Linked DNA regions of Homo sapiens: regions 1 and 2 are each linked to region 3. The links are contacts of gene promoters, found by promoter capture Hi-C in blood cells and fetal thymus (Javierre and others, 2016). All regions are on one chromosome and are shown on one strand. The core of a region is centred on a gene start or on the middle of the fragment in contact, and the rest is flanking DNA. Distances in the headings are between cores, read along the strand shown.

Region 1 (4,393 bases), core at 749-3,248, 680 kb before region 3:
GGGGAGCACGTATATCACAGCATTACGATTATTTGCTCTGTGTTTGTTTTCTGTCTCAGCTGAGCTCCTTGAGGCCAGAGACTTTGTTTTGTCTATCACTGAAGTTCCCAGAGCCTGGCACGGGACCTCGTCCTTCTTAGATGTTCAACATGTGTGGGATGGATGAACGGATGGGTGGGTGGGCAGACGGATAATTAGATGAAGGCTCCGTGCCCGCCCTTGTGTCATGAAAGATATACACTACAAAGATGGCAACCTAGGACTGAGCTAAGGCCCAGGGACCATGCAAAGGATAGTGTTTCAACAGTGGCTGGCATTGAGTAGGGCAGCTTTTACGTTTTTATAAATAACCTGAAAAAGGAAGTTCAGACTGAAACTCACACGTCTATGGGTGACACAGAGCTCTTTCGGTAGGGAGGTTCCATGCCAAAAGGGTAGAGGAGGGGAGGATCCCCTAAGATATGAGTGGGCGGACAAGTGGAAGGTTGCTTCAGCGTGAACAAACTCAAACCACTGTATTGACGCGGAAGTTATCTGAGGTATAAGATGGTGCCTCCGGGTGATTAAGTTTGACAAGAAAGCGTCACTTCATTCAATCAATAAATTAAACACCTACTATGTGCTGGGCTTTGTGCTCAGGCCTTTACCTCCTACCCTTGAAGATCTCAGAGTCTAATGGAGAAGAATGCTTCCAATGTAGTGGGAAAAATAGACATAGAAGGAAATAATTAGAGATAAGACTGGAAGGGCTAATAGAAGAATGGTAGAGAGTGCTATGAGACTTCCGAAGAGAGCTGCTCTGCTATCTGTGGTGGGGAAGTCGGGAGGATTTATTCATTCTGTACTTATTTCATGAATAGTTCAGGGCATTTACCGTGTGCTCAGTTTTGAAGGCACCAAGTTAAACAGATATGGAGTCTTATCTCCAAAGAGCTTACAGTCCACTGGGAGTGATGGATAGGTAAAGTGTGGGAGGGGCCGTGAGGGGGGATTTGTGATTCAGAAAGGATTTCGCTGAATGGTGAAATCTTGACCTAAAGTCATCCTTTAAATTCATTAGGCAGAAAAGGGGGAATGTGGACAATCCCAGCAGAAAAAGCAAAGTGGGCAAAGGTTCAACAGAGAGAACACCAGGGTGTGTTTTGGAAACTGCCGAGGCTCCTGGCTGAAGCAGAGGCTGCGGGGTGGGGGTGGTCACCGGAGAGGCAGCTGGGCTGACAGGGGCCAGCACAGGCATGGCCAAGGATATGGGGAACCTCTGCAGGATTTTAAGCAGGACAGTGATGTGATCTAGATTAATGGTTAAGAAAGATTATTCTAGTCTTGGTGGAGGGTGGACTATAAATTGGAGAATGAAAGGGAGAGTGAAACCAGCAGCCAATAGGACCCCTAAAATCGTCTTAGCAAGAGCTTATGCACTGAGAACAGAATGAGTTAATAGACCCAGAACCAGTGGAGTGGAATTGTCCTGATGACACCAGCCAAGGAGTTTGGGGAAATGTTATTCTCTCACTGTGCATGTAAGGCACCCTGTGGGGACAGTGCTGAGCTTAGGACCTAGAGGCAGCATCAGATAGGAGGGGAGAAAAATACACCAGAGTCCTGGGGAGTGTGGGCTGGGCCATGGCTCTGTGTCCTTAGAGAGTTATGAGACTTGACTGAGCCCCCGTTGGGACTGCTGTGAGAAAGAAGCGGGATAACATATTATAAACAATAGCATCTGCAGCTGGAGTGATGTTGGGTGGTTTGGGTTCCTGTACGTTTGGAGACAGAGTCAAAGCTGGGGAACGTCTTTAAGCTTCTGAAAGCTTTCTTTATAGAGACGCAATGAAAATATTAGAGCTGTTCTATCTGGAAAGTACAAAGGGAGGATGCCAAAGTTTAAGTAAGCTTCATAGCACAGGCATGGAGAGGAACTCAAACTGCCTGGTTTCAAATCCTGCCTTTGTGACCTAAGATCCATATATTCCCTTGAGTGAGCTATTTAACCTTTCAAAGCCTCTGTTCCCTCATTTGTGTAACAGGGATAATAATGAGCTGACTGTTGTGAGGGTTAAATGATACAATGCAGGTAAAGAGCATAGTACATACACCACGTTACACATGATAAGCTTGTAAGTAGCAGCAGCTATGAAATCATTAACTGGGACAAAAGTCTGCACACTCAGTCCCCCAATCCTGCAAAAGGAGGATCCTGCAAAAGGAGAGCAAGAATACCTCCCTTGTGTTGGAAGAAACACATTGTGGCAAATAAGAAAAGGTGGAGCGACTTCACATAGTGGTTTAAAACTGACAAAATCCATCATTCCAAACAAATCGGTGTGGACAACTTCAGACCGTCATTCTGCCTTTCAGCTGTAGGTGGGAGTTGAGTAGCAGCTGCCATCTTTCTTTCATTGTTTTAACTTTTTGGAAATTATCAACATTCACAAAAGCAGAGAGGATAGTGTAATGAACCCCCATGTATCTTCATCCAGATTCAGTAACGATCAACATACCTCCAGTCTGGTTTCATCCCAGCTGCCCCTATAGACGGGCACGCGCCATCCCAGCTCCCTGTGCACTCGGAGAATTCTCTTCCTTACTTGCTTTTCCCTCAGTGGAAATGGAAAACAGCCTGTTGTTAATGTCATTTAATCTCAGTTTAGCTTCCTTTAGGTTGGGCTAAATAATTTACGTTTATGCAATTTATTACTACAAAGCATTTCTTGACATTTTCATCTTCTCCTTGATTCTTTGAATACCTCCATTTCCTCCCGTCCACAGAAGATTGTGAACCCAGAACAAGACACAAGAGCTCTGTGAGTGTCCATCCAAGGGTCGCAGTGACGTGAGGCTAAATGCAAGGCCTGCTGCCCACCCAACTCTAAGCGCCTACCAACCCCAAACTGTGTCACAGTCCCTGGGTCTCTTGCACACGCTTGTGCTTAATACTGATTTGCCACTTAACAAGTCCCTTGGATGTCAGCAAAAGAGTGAGTACACGGAAGGAAAGAGAGCCCTTGTTTTTTCTTTCTTTTTTTTAAATTAATTTTTATTTTTTAAAGAACACATCACCTCTGCCAGAACCCTCAACTTTGGCTACGCCTACATGGAGAATGTTTTCATGGCCAAGACAGTCCACGACAGCTTTATGTTCTCCTGGACCTGGAGAGGTCCCAGCACACTGTGTGCCCCATACTACACATAGCAGTATGTGCATCATCACTGTGAGAGGAAGAGCCTTCTGCTGACACATCGAAAGTACTCAGATCGGATCCCTTGTGGCTTTGGCTGTCATCAGAAGCCCTCCCCTGAGATACAGCTGAATCATGTACTGCATGTCTTTAGTTGGTGTCTAATTTGTGGGGCTGGCAGCCTGGAATGTAGTTATTGCAAATGATACTAATCTCTGAGCTGCATTCCAGAGCGAAACTGCTTCTATGGATGCTATAATTAGCACAGACTTATTATGCATTTACTATATGCAAAGCACTTCATGTATTGGCAACACTTGCCTTAAACCTAGAAAATAATCACAATTGTTTGCATTTGCATTGTGCTTTGCATCTTACATCTGTAATATTAACAAAGAAGGCTTATTGGGTGCCAACTGTGCACCACGCATTGAGTCTGTAAAAACCTCCAAACAACCCTCTCTGTATTGTTCCATTCTCTATTGTCAGAAGCTGAGGGTTAGCTCTATTTAGTGAATTGACCAAGGGCCTCACAGCTAGTGAACAAGGGAACATAATTCAAATCCAGGACTGTGCATCAGTCCATGGGTCTGACCACTGCACCACACTGTCTTCTAACTCTAACAGAGTAATCGCTATTTGAGAGGTAATCATTCTATTTTATTTTATTTTATTTATTTTATTTTAAGACAGAGTCTCGCTCTGTCCCCCAGGCTGCAATGCAGTGGCGCTTTCTCGGCTCACTGCAACCTCCGCCTTCTGGGCGCAAGCTATTCTCGTGCCTCAGCTTCCCAAATAGCTGGGATTACAGGCATGCGTCACCACACCAGGCTAATTTTTATATTTTTAGTAGAGATGGGTTTTTGCCATCTTGGCCAGGCTGGTCTCAAACTCCTGGCCTCAAGTGATATGCCGGCTTTGGCTTCCCAAAGTGCTGGGATTACAGGTGTGAGCCACTGCTCCTGGCCAAGGTAATCATTCTTAAACCACTTTTATAGATGAGATGCCAATGCCCAGAGAGATTTTCTTCAAATCCTGCTGATAAATAGCAGAGCCAAGGCTCAAAGTCAGATCCTGTGACCCCATATTCAGTGTTTCTGAGTGCAACACCTGTTCCTCAGGCCGATGCTGCCTGGGCTAGGGGAACGGCTCATCACCACTGGCCTCCTCCCACTGTTGAGATAGGGCTCAGTTGCAGGGCCCCCCCACCTTTCTTC
Region 2 (4,018 bases), core at 336-2,835, 730 kb before region 3:
TGGAGTCACCGAATTGAGTTTGAATCTTAGGAAGCTGCTATGTGTTCTTGGCATTTCCTGCAACCTCTATGCTATCTCTTCTTCTGTGAAATGCCTGTGGATAATATTATCCACCTTCCAAAATTATTGTGAGAAACACATCAGATGACTGATTTTTCTTTTTAAATCTTTCTTTCTTTCTTTCTCTTTCTTTCTTTCTCTTTCTTTCTTTCTTTCTTTCTTTCTTTCTTTCTTTCTTTCTTTTCTTTCTTTCCTTTCTTTTTTTTTTGAAACAAGGTCTCCCTCTGCCACCAGGCTGTAGTGCAGTGGTGCAATCTCTGGTTACTGCAACCTCCGCCTCCAGGGCTCAAGCGATCCTCCCACCTCAGCCTCCTGAGTAGCTAGGACTAGAGGCAAATGCCATGACAGCCAGATAATTTTTGTATTTTTTTGTAGAGACATGGTTTCGCCATGTTGCTCTGGCTGGTCTTGAACTCCTGAGCTCAAGTAATCTACCTGCCTCGGCCTCCCAAAGTGCTGGGATTACAGGCATGAGTCACCATGCCCAGCCCAGATGACTGATATTTCAATGTCTTGTAATCTATTAAGGTTTACGTAAATATTATTGTTTAGCTTTGGAAATCGATCAAGGAATTGACAATGGTACCCAGAGCCCAGCAGTGGAACTAGAGGTCGTGTTGTTGGTGGTGCTTTATTCACTTGGCCGTATTCAGTGGGTAGGTTTGCAGCATGAGGTATCATGTGTGGGTACTAGCGGAGACCCGACATGCTGCACATCTGAGAGGCCAAGAGAAACTGAGGTAACCATCATTCCCCCGGGAGCAGCACCGCTGTTGGAGTGAGGAAGAGGTCAGTCTCTTATGATTAGGTAGAGATCCAATTCCTCAACACTTTGAACTAGCACAAAGTCCCCAGTGCTGAATGAGATGGGCTGACATCATAAGCTTTGTCTCCTCCTTTGTTTAGGCTCTGACCAGAGTTACACATGGTGAGTCCATTTTTAAAATTCATTTCCCAAGTTTGGGATTTTGTTAAGCTTTATGGTTTAGTGGATACAGTTAACAATTCTTTTCCAAACACCATTACATCTTAAGTTTTTTTCACATTTTTCAATGTAAATGTTCATATGTTCATCTTACTCACTCTCATAGTTTACTTCTGATCTTTTTTTTTTTTTTTTTGAGATGGAGTCTCGCTCTGTCACCTAGTCTGAAGTGCAGTGGCATGATATCGGCTCACTGCAACCTCCACCTCCCGGGTTCAAACAATTCTCCTGCCTCAGCCTCCCCAGTAGCTGGGATTACAGGTGCTCACCACCACACCCAGCTAAATTTTGTATTTTTAGTAGAGATGGGGTTTCACCATGTTGGTCAAGCTGGTCTTGAACTCCTGGCCTCAGGTGATCCACCCTCCTCGGCCTCCCAAAGCGCTGGGAATATAGGCATGAGCCAAAGCACCTGGCCTACTTCTGATCTTGATGTTAACAGTAGGGGATGCAATTTGTAGAGGAAGTGTGTTTCTGACAGGTGAGAGAACACTTCATGTAGGGTGAACAGTAAACTGTCCCAGACAGGGATGTGCTATGTAGATGAGCACTGGGAAGCCTGTGTTTTCTCAGAGCTCCTGAAGACACCCTGCTCCACATTAAACCAGAATCATCACGTCTCATCACAAAAAGAACATTAGTGTTATGGGGTATATTTTCTGTTTCATATTAAAAATTCCCAACCCCCAGCATTCTGACCCTGTCAAGCCCACGGGCTGCTACTAATTTGCATGGTTGTGTGATTTGTGTGATTCTGCTCCATCTGCTTTGAATTTCTTGGCTTCTTTGTCCAAGACGTTAATAACTCTAGTCATTTCTTGTGAGGATTTAAGGATGTTATTGATTGATTTTGGATTACAAAGAAACAAAAAGACAGTAGGCAATGTTCTAATTGGGTCTTCTTATTGTGCACTGTAGCCTGAATCCCCCAGGGTAATTAATATGAAGTGCAAAAAGTTGAATGTTCCAGTCTAAAAGGCAGTGGGAGAAATTACATAGCATGGAAATAATAAAATGAACTCTTATTAATGAGAACGAGGCTCTTGCAGTGGCAAGTTCTGCTGGTCACCCGATGGGGATGGGAGCCTTTCAAGCTTTTTTTTGGGTAATACTCACAGTTTCCAACGTCTGTGTACTTTTCAAAATGAGCTTGTTCTTCCTTCTGACACTCATCTCAAAGCTCCATGGTGACGCAGAGGTCTGTTGAAGGTCACAGGGTCCTCGCTTGCATTGGCATACGGTCCTGTAGCATCACTTGTTAGCCCACTGCTGCTTGAAGGAACTAAGAGTATTCAGGGATAGAGAGCTGAAAATAGGATTAATTCTTTCCTTTTGACTCTCCCCTCAAGATGTCCTTGCTTTGGTCTGAAAACCTCTCCTGACAACTTTTGCCCAAAGCAAACCATCTGCCTTTTCTGAACTCTGAGTGAATATATTAGCATCTTCCCTTCTGAGCCCTCGTACTGCCATGTTTGTTTGTTTGTTTGTTTCCAAGAAACTGTGTCTTGCTCTGTCACCCAGGCTGGCATGTAGTGGCATGATCATGCTCACCGCAGCCTCAAACTCCTGGGCTCACGTGATCCTCCTGCCTCGGCCTCCCAAAATGCTGGGATTACAAGTGTGAACCACCACGCCCAGCTGTAATGCCACATTTCAATCTTCCCTCCCAGTGAAGACGACCGTTTCTTTGAGGACAGATGCTGTGTTCTTTACTTCTCTATGTCTCCCTTAGTCCTAACATGTGGCTTCCAAGTAATGCAGCGTATGCTCAACCAAGAGGGATGGTCAGCAAACAGCCCATGAGGAAAAGTAGCATTTGTTCCTAGGAAAACCGAATTATTTGCTTTAGTAATGAATCCAAGTCCAACATAGTTACGTGCAAGGAAACATTTCATCCAGAATACTAATGACATCAGCATGGAGAGAGAAGAGTCTAAAATAAAGATCTTTTTAAAGTACTTAAAGGAGGCCAGAGAATATCATCACATAAAGTATAATATAGGACCCTACCCCTACCAAGCACGGAGATCCCTTGCCTTCATCGTTCAAGGTCAGATTGGAGATTTCAGAGAACCCTAGGTTGCAAGAAACGTGTTTGGAGTTTTGGGGAACAGATAAAACAGTAAGCAGTAGGAAAAAAAATCACCAGGTTTTTTTTTTTTTCAGATGGAATTTTGCTCTTGTCGCCGAGGCTGGAGTGCAATGGTGCGATCTCAGCTTACTGCAACCTTTGCCTCCCGAGTTCAAGCGATTCTCCTGCTTCAGCCTCTCGAGTAGCTGAGATTACAGGCGCATGCTACCACACCCGGCAAATTTTTGTATTTTTAGTAGAGACAGGGTTTCACCATGTCAGCCAGGCTGGTCTCTAACTCCTGACGTCAGGTGATCCACCCGCCTCGGCCTCCCAAAGTGCTGGGGATTACAGGCGTGAGCCACCGTGCCTGGCCAGATTTTTAACTCAGGAAAAATTTATATTCTCCTCACTCATCTTTGAATTATACTAACATCATTAAATGAAGGAGTGGAATTGCTATAAAACTTACTACTAATCCTGATTCTGCATTCACTCATCATTTGTTTTCTCATTTATTCACTCATTCTATAAACAAATTGGACACTCCCTCAAGATCAGTGCTGTATCTGATTCCTTTTGAAATGTCCTCTTTCCTCTTTCCCCCAAGCCTCGCCCACAGCAGGTACTTAGTAGATGTTTACTGAACAGGGTTGGTGGTGGACATGCCACTTCTTTGAAATATTTTTTTCTTTGGCCGGGCACGGTGGCTCATGCCTGTAAATCCCAGCACTTTGGGAGGCTGAGGTGGGCGGATCACGAGGTCGGGAGATTGAGAGCATCCTGGCTAACACAGTGAAACCCCGTCTCTACTAAAAATACAAAAAATTAGCCAGGCGTGGTGGTGGGTGCCTGTAGTCCCAGCTACTCGGGAGGCTGAGGCAGGAGAATCGCTTGAACCC
Region 3 (4,281 bases), core at 1,395-3,894:
GGAAAGGGCTGAAGGATGTGTTTTGAACAGGGTTTTAACGGTCAAAAGGGTTATGGCTTGAAAAAAAGAAGGGACTGCAGGTGCAAGTGAGTAAGGACAGCGTTCAGGCTAAGAGAGCTCAGGGTATCTGCTTCCCAATCAAGTGAAACATTTTAGATTCCTGCTTGGAGGTTTTCCCTCAGGCCGGGTGAAATGTAAATGATCACTCTTAGCCACTGCTGTGCCCAAGGCTTGAATTAAATCTCACAGGATTTCAGTTCCAGAATCTACTGTGAGTGGGAAAAGTGGCTGAAGTGTGTGGGAAGAGGGTGCTGGTGGCTTTTCTTCCTTGTAAGAGGTATACACTTAAATTCAGAGTGCCCAGAACAAACTTAAAGCTTCCTCCCTTGTTTCTTCTCCCTCTTCCCAAGCTGCCCATAGAATCTTCTGGCCCCTGTCTTGTGGACCATCCTTTTGTGTTTTTGGCCTCCAAGCGAATGGTGGTGTCCTGGCTTCCTTTCTTCCCATAAGCCCCTGAGACCCTCATCTTCTATGTCAAGAGCCCGCCCAAAACTCAGGTTCCTTGAACTGGGAAGTTATCAGATCCCTTGCAAAACACTCGTCCTTGGAGGAAGTACAAGGCAGTGAACAAACTCTGTGGAACTTGGCTTAGCTCCCGATCCTGAAGTTTGGAGTTACAGTGCAATCTCCTCAGCATCCCTGGAGCCGGAAGAGGTGACCTTGGCAGGCCTGACACCTGATGGCAAGGGGTTTCTGCTTTCTGTGCTATGTCCAGGAGTTAAAGTAGAGTGAAACCAAATCACTCCTGAGAGGGCCAGTGGCTGGATTTCAGAAACGGGGGCTGACATTCCAGGGAGTCATTTATGGGAGGGCCTGGCCTTGGCTCTTCAGCCGCAGTATCTCTCTCCCTGAGGAAGAAATATTTCCCTTGGTTTCCCAGCCTCTCAAAAGTTGTGTAATGTCAGGATGCCTTGAGCTTTTCCATACTTGACAAGTGTCATTGCAGAGCTTGGTAGATCCATAGCCAGCTGTCATCCTTGATGTCTTGCTGAACTGCAGGGATGTATTTACTTGCAGTGAATTCTTGTGATCTTTAGGGATGTGAATTTTCCTCAGCTTCGGGACACTTGTGAAATGTGACTTTTGTCCTGGCACGGAAGCTGGGCATTGGCTCCCAGATGGAAACTGGACTCTGAGAGAGGCAGAAAAGAAGGGTGGATCAGATTGTGGACTTCATGGTATGTTCTTGGGTGCTTCTCATGATCTCTTTGAAAGTTACTGACCAGGCTGGGCATGGTGGCTCATGCCTGTAATCTCAGCACTTTGGGAGGCCAAGGTGGGCAGATCACTTGAGGCCAGGAGTTTGAGACCAGCCTGGGCAATATAGCAAGACCTCATATCGACAAAAAGAAATAAAACTTAGCTGCGTGTGGTGGTGCGCACCTGTACTCCCAGCTACTCAGGAGGCTCAGCTGGGAGGACAGCTTGAGCCCAGGAATTCAAGGTTGCGGTGAGCCATGACTGCACCACTGCACTCCAGCCTGGGCAACAGAGTGAGACTTTGTCTCTTAAAAACAAAACAAAACAAAACAGTTACTGACCCAAGAGACAAATGCATTGGGCTGGGGTTGAAGGAGGAGAATGGCTGCTACAGCCCTGCTCTAGGAGCTGGGCTGGGTTAGACTCAGTGCCCACAGAGAGCACCTAAATAGGATGGATCGGTTCTAGGGTTGATGATCTCTTAGGGCCTGGGTCTAGAGAGTGAGTGTGGTTCAGCACATCTTGGGATGCTACCAGGACTGAACCAGACTTCCTAGGTTCCATGACATGGGGACATACTGGATTCTGTGACTCAGTCCATGGCAGGCTGAAGCAGAACTGAATCAGCCCTCAGCAATGTAAGGGGGGGTACCCTCGACTCCCTGGGGCTCTGTTGGATGCATTGCTTTGTGGGTGCTCACCGACTCCTCATTTCATTCTTTGCTAGGGACGCGGCTATGGTACTGGCAGCTGGCTCATGTACAGGGTTCAGGCCCCATTTTCCTTACTGGTCCTGTGTCCTTTGTCTCTCAGACCCTGTTGTCTGTCTTTCCTTGGTATGTCATGTCTGGTATCCTCAGCTCACGCCGCCACGGGAGAACTGTCCTCTTCTCAGCTTGTCATTTTGGAAGCAGCCTCCAGCAACCTTGCTTTCCTCCTCTGACTATACTCCGGCCTGCAGTGCCACTACTCACGCCCCCAAATAATTTAAACTGCCTTTCTTAGGAGACAAGAGCTAGTTGAAAAGTCTCCTCATTTTCCTTCAACCCTGTATCATGGGTGGCCTGAGAGAGTGAGGACTGAATTCATTGACTCCCCTTTCTCTGCACCCCCCACCCCCAAGGAAATAGCCGAGTTCGACTAATGGGAGTTGCCTGGCCAATCGTTGCCCTGAGAAAGTTTGGTTTGTGATCCTATTTCAGTAGGCTGATTGGAGCAGCCTTTACTTGGAGGTCGAGTCCCTCCCCGAGGGAATCCGTGTACAGTTACACTAGCGGTCGCTGCCAGTGCTAGCCCATTCAGGATAGCCCCCCTCACCCCGCCCCCAGCCCCCGCTCCTCCTCCTCCTTTTTTGTTTTTATCCAGTGTCTCGCTTCCTCTCTCTCTCTCTCTCTCTGTCTCTCTCTCCCTTTCCCTCCTACCACTGCCTCTTCCTCCCGCTCTCTACCTCCCTGCAGCGCCAAGCCGGCTCCCCAACCTGGTCTGCTGAACGCAAACCGCTGAGAGTTTGCTGCACCGCCCCCTGGGGCCCCTGGCTGCCGAGTCCCGCTAAGGCAAAGACGCCAGCAAGCGAGGAAGCGCAGCGGAAGAAAAACAAGCGGGCGCGCGAGGGGAGCCCCAGGAGGGCTGCCGAGTGGCTGGCAGGCGGCTCCCGCCCCTCCCGGGTGGCCTCGCCGGCGGCTGACGGCCCGGAGGACGCGCGCTCCGAAAAGTTAGACTCCGGGCGGCGGCGCGCTACGCCGCGTCCCCTCGCGTCCCTTCCTCGCTGCGCTCCGGGAAAGGAACTTGTTCCTTCGGCCCCAGGATTGGGGAGTGTGCCGCGGGGCCGAGGGTGGGGAACAGCCAGAGGGAGACGCGAACCAGGCCGCTGGCGGAGGGCTCAGGGGGAGCGCAGAGGCGACGGCCCCCATGCCGGCGGCCAACATGATGGAGAACCGGCCGCTGCCCGCCCTGCAGGTGCCCGAGCCGCAGGGTGCGCCCGAGGGCAGCCCGGTCTGGTCCAGTTCGTCGACCCCCACGCTTCGCCGCCGGCGCTTCAAGATGCGCCGCATGAAGAACGTACAGGAGCAGAGCCTGGAGGCCGGGCTGGCCCGGGACCTGCCCGCCGTCTTGGCCCCCGGCAAGGAGTTCCTGCAGCTGCCGTCCATCGAGATCACGCCCTCCAGCGACGAGGACACCCCGTGGTCCAACTGCTCCACACCCAGCGCGTCCCCGCGCCGAAAACGCTTCCTCCTCCGCAAGTGGCTGAGGGTGAGGGAGCGGAAGGAGTGCAGTGAAAGCAGGTACGTCCCCGTTCCGCCCGTCTCCTTCCCTTCCCTCCCGTCCTCTCCAGAGCCGTCCAGGGCCCCGGGGCATTCTGGGGGAAACGTCCTGGGGGAGAACAGGAGCCCGTCACCAGAGGCGCTTCTGGAGGGCGCTGCGCCTGGTCCCAGGGATGGTGGCATTCAGCTTCCACGCGTGCCACCCGCTCCCCAACTCAGGGTGAGGGGCTTCATGTTGCACGACACGTTTACGTGGGGCTTTACGCTGCATTCCATCTCCCTTGATCCTCGCAGCGAAATAAATAATAAAAATAATAACAGCTAATAGTTATTGAGCCCTTACCATGTGCGGGCCACTATGTTGCGCACTTCATGTACCTCCAGATTTCATCCCTACGCAAACTCTCTGAGGTAGGTATTACTATGGCTCCCTTTCTACAGAAGGAGATAGTAAAAGGCCAGAGAACAGTTAAGTGGTTTATATTTCAGGACTCCGTTTCAATCTTATTTTATGTTTGGCCACACCGGATTGCCTTAACTGGCTCACTTGTGTGGAAGTGAAATATTGACATTGAGTGAGTCACATTTCCTACCATATCAGAGTCTTTAGACATCGATACCTACAAGACTGTGGTTTGTACCAGCTAGTTTTTTGCCTAGGTCAATGTGGCATCTGGGTAATGGGAGAAGGTTGAGCTTCCCTCACGTAGAGAATTGCTGCAGGGCGCCCTAGAGCAGCTCTACACAGCCCTGGTCAGGA

Evidence for each region. Contacts are between HindIII fragments. The CHiCAGO score rates a contact against its expected background, and 5 or more counts as called.
Region 1: a fragment that was not itself captured here is called in contact with the fragment with the promoter of GRAMD1B in region 3 in 1 of 17 cell types (fetal thymus); the score reaches 5.2 in fetal thymus.
Region 2: a contact is called between a fragment that was not itself captured here and the fragment with the promoter of GRAMD1B in region 3, in 1 of 17 cell types (fetal thymus). The highest score is 5.5, in fetal thymus.

The regions. Positions count from the first base shown.
Region 1 is chr11:122,745,889-122,750,281 of GRCh38, forward strand. All of the region lies in intron 1 of UBASH3B (ubiquitin associated and SH3 domain containing B), which reads left to right. Among named protein-coding and RNA genes, the nearest start is that of CRTAM, 90 kb to the right of the region's middle. RefSeq lists an enhancer at 3,329-3,378. The HindIII fragment of the contact is 221 bases long and covers 1,889-2,109 here.
Region 2 is chr11:122,699,334-122,703,351 of GRCh38, forward strand. All of the region lies in intron 1 of UBASH3B (ubiquitin associated and SH3 domain containing B), which reads left to right. Among named protein-coding and RNA genes, the nearest start is that of UBASH3B, 46 kb to the left of the region's middle. The HindIII fragment of the contact is 1,103 bases long and covers 1,035-2,137 here.
Region 3 is chr11:123,427,625-123,431,905 of GRCh38, forward strand. GRAMD1B (GRAM domain containing 1B) reads left to right here and starts at 2,645. Exons shown (of 20, transcript NM_001387025.1): 1 at 2,645-3,542. The coding sequence starts at 3,169. It overlaps LOC124902776 (a long non-coding RNA gene), which reads right to left and starts at 3,590. Exons shown (of 2, transcript XR_007062928.1): 1 at 3,323-3,590; 2 at 1-1,192. RefSeq lists silencers at 2,783-3,112, 3,223-3,272. The HindIII fragment of the contact is 5,032 bases long and covers 376-4,281 here.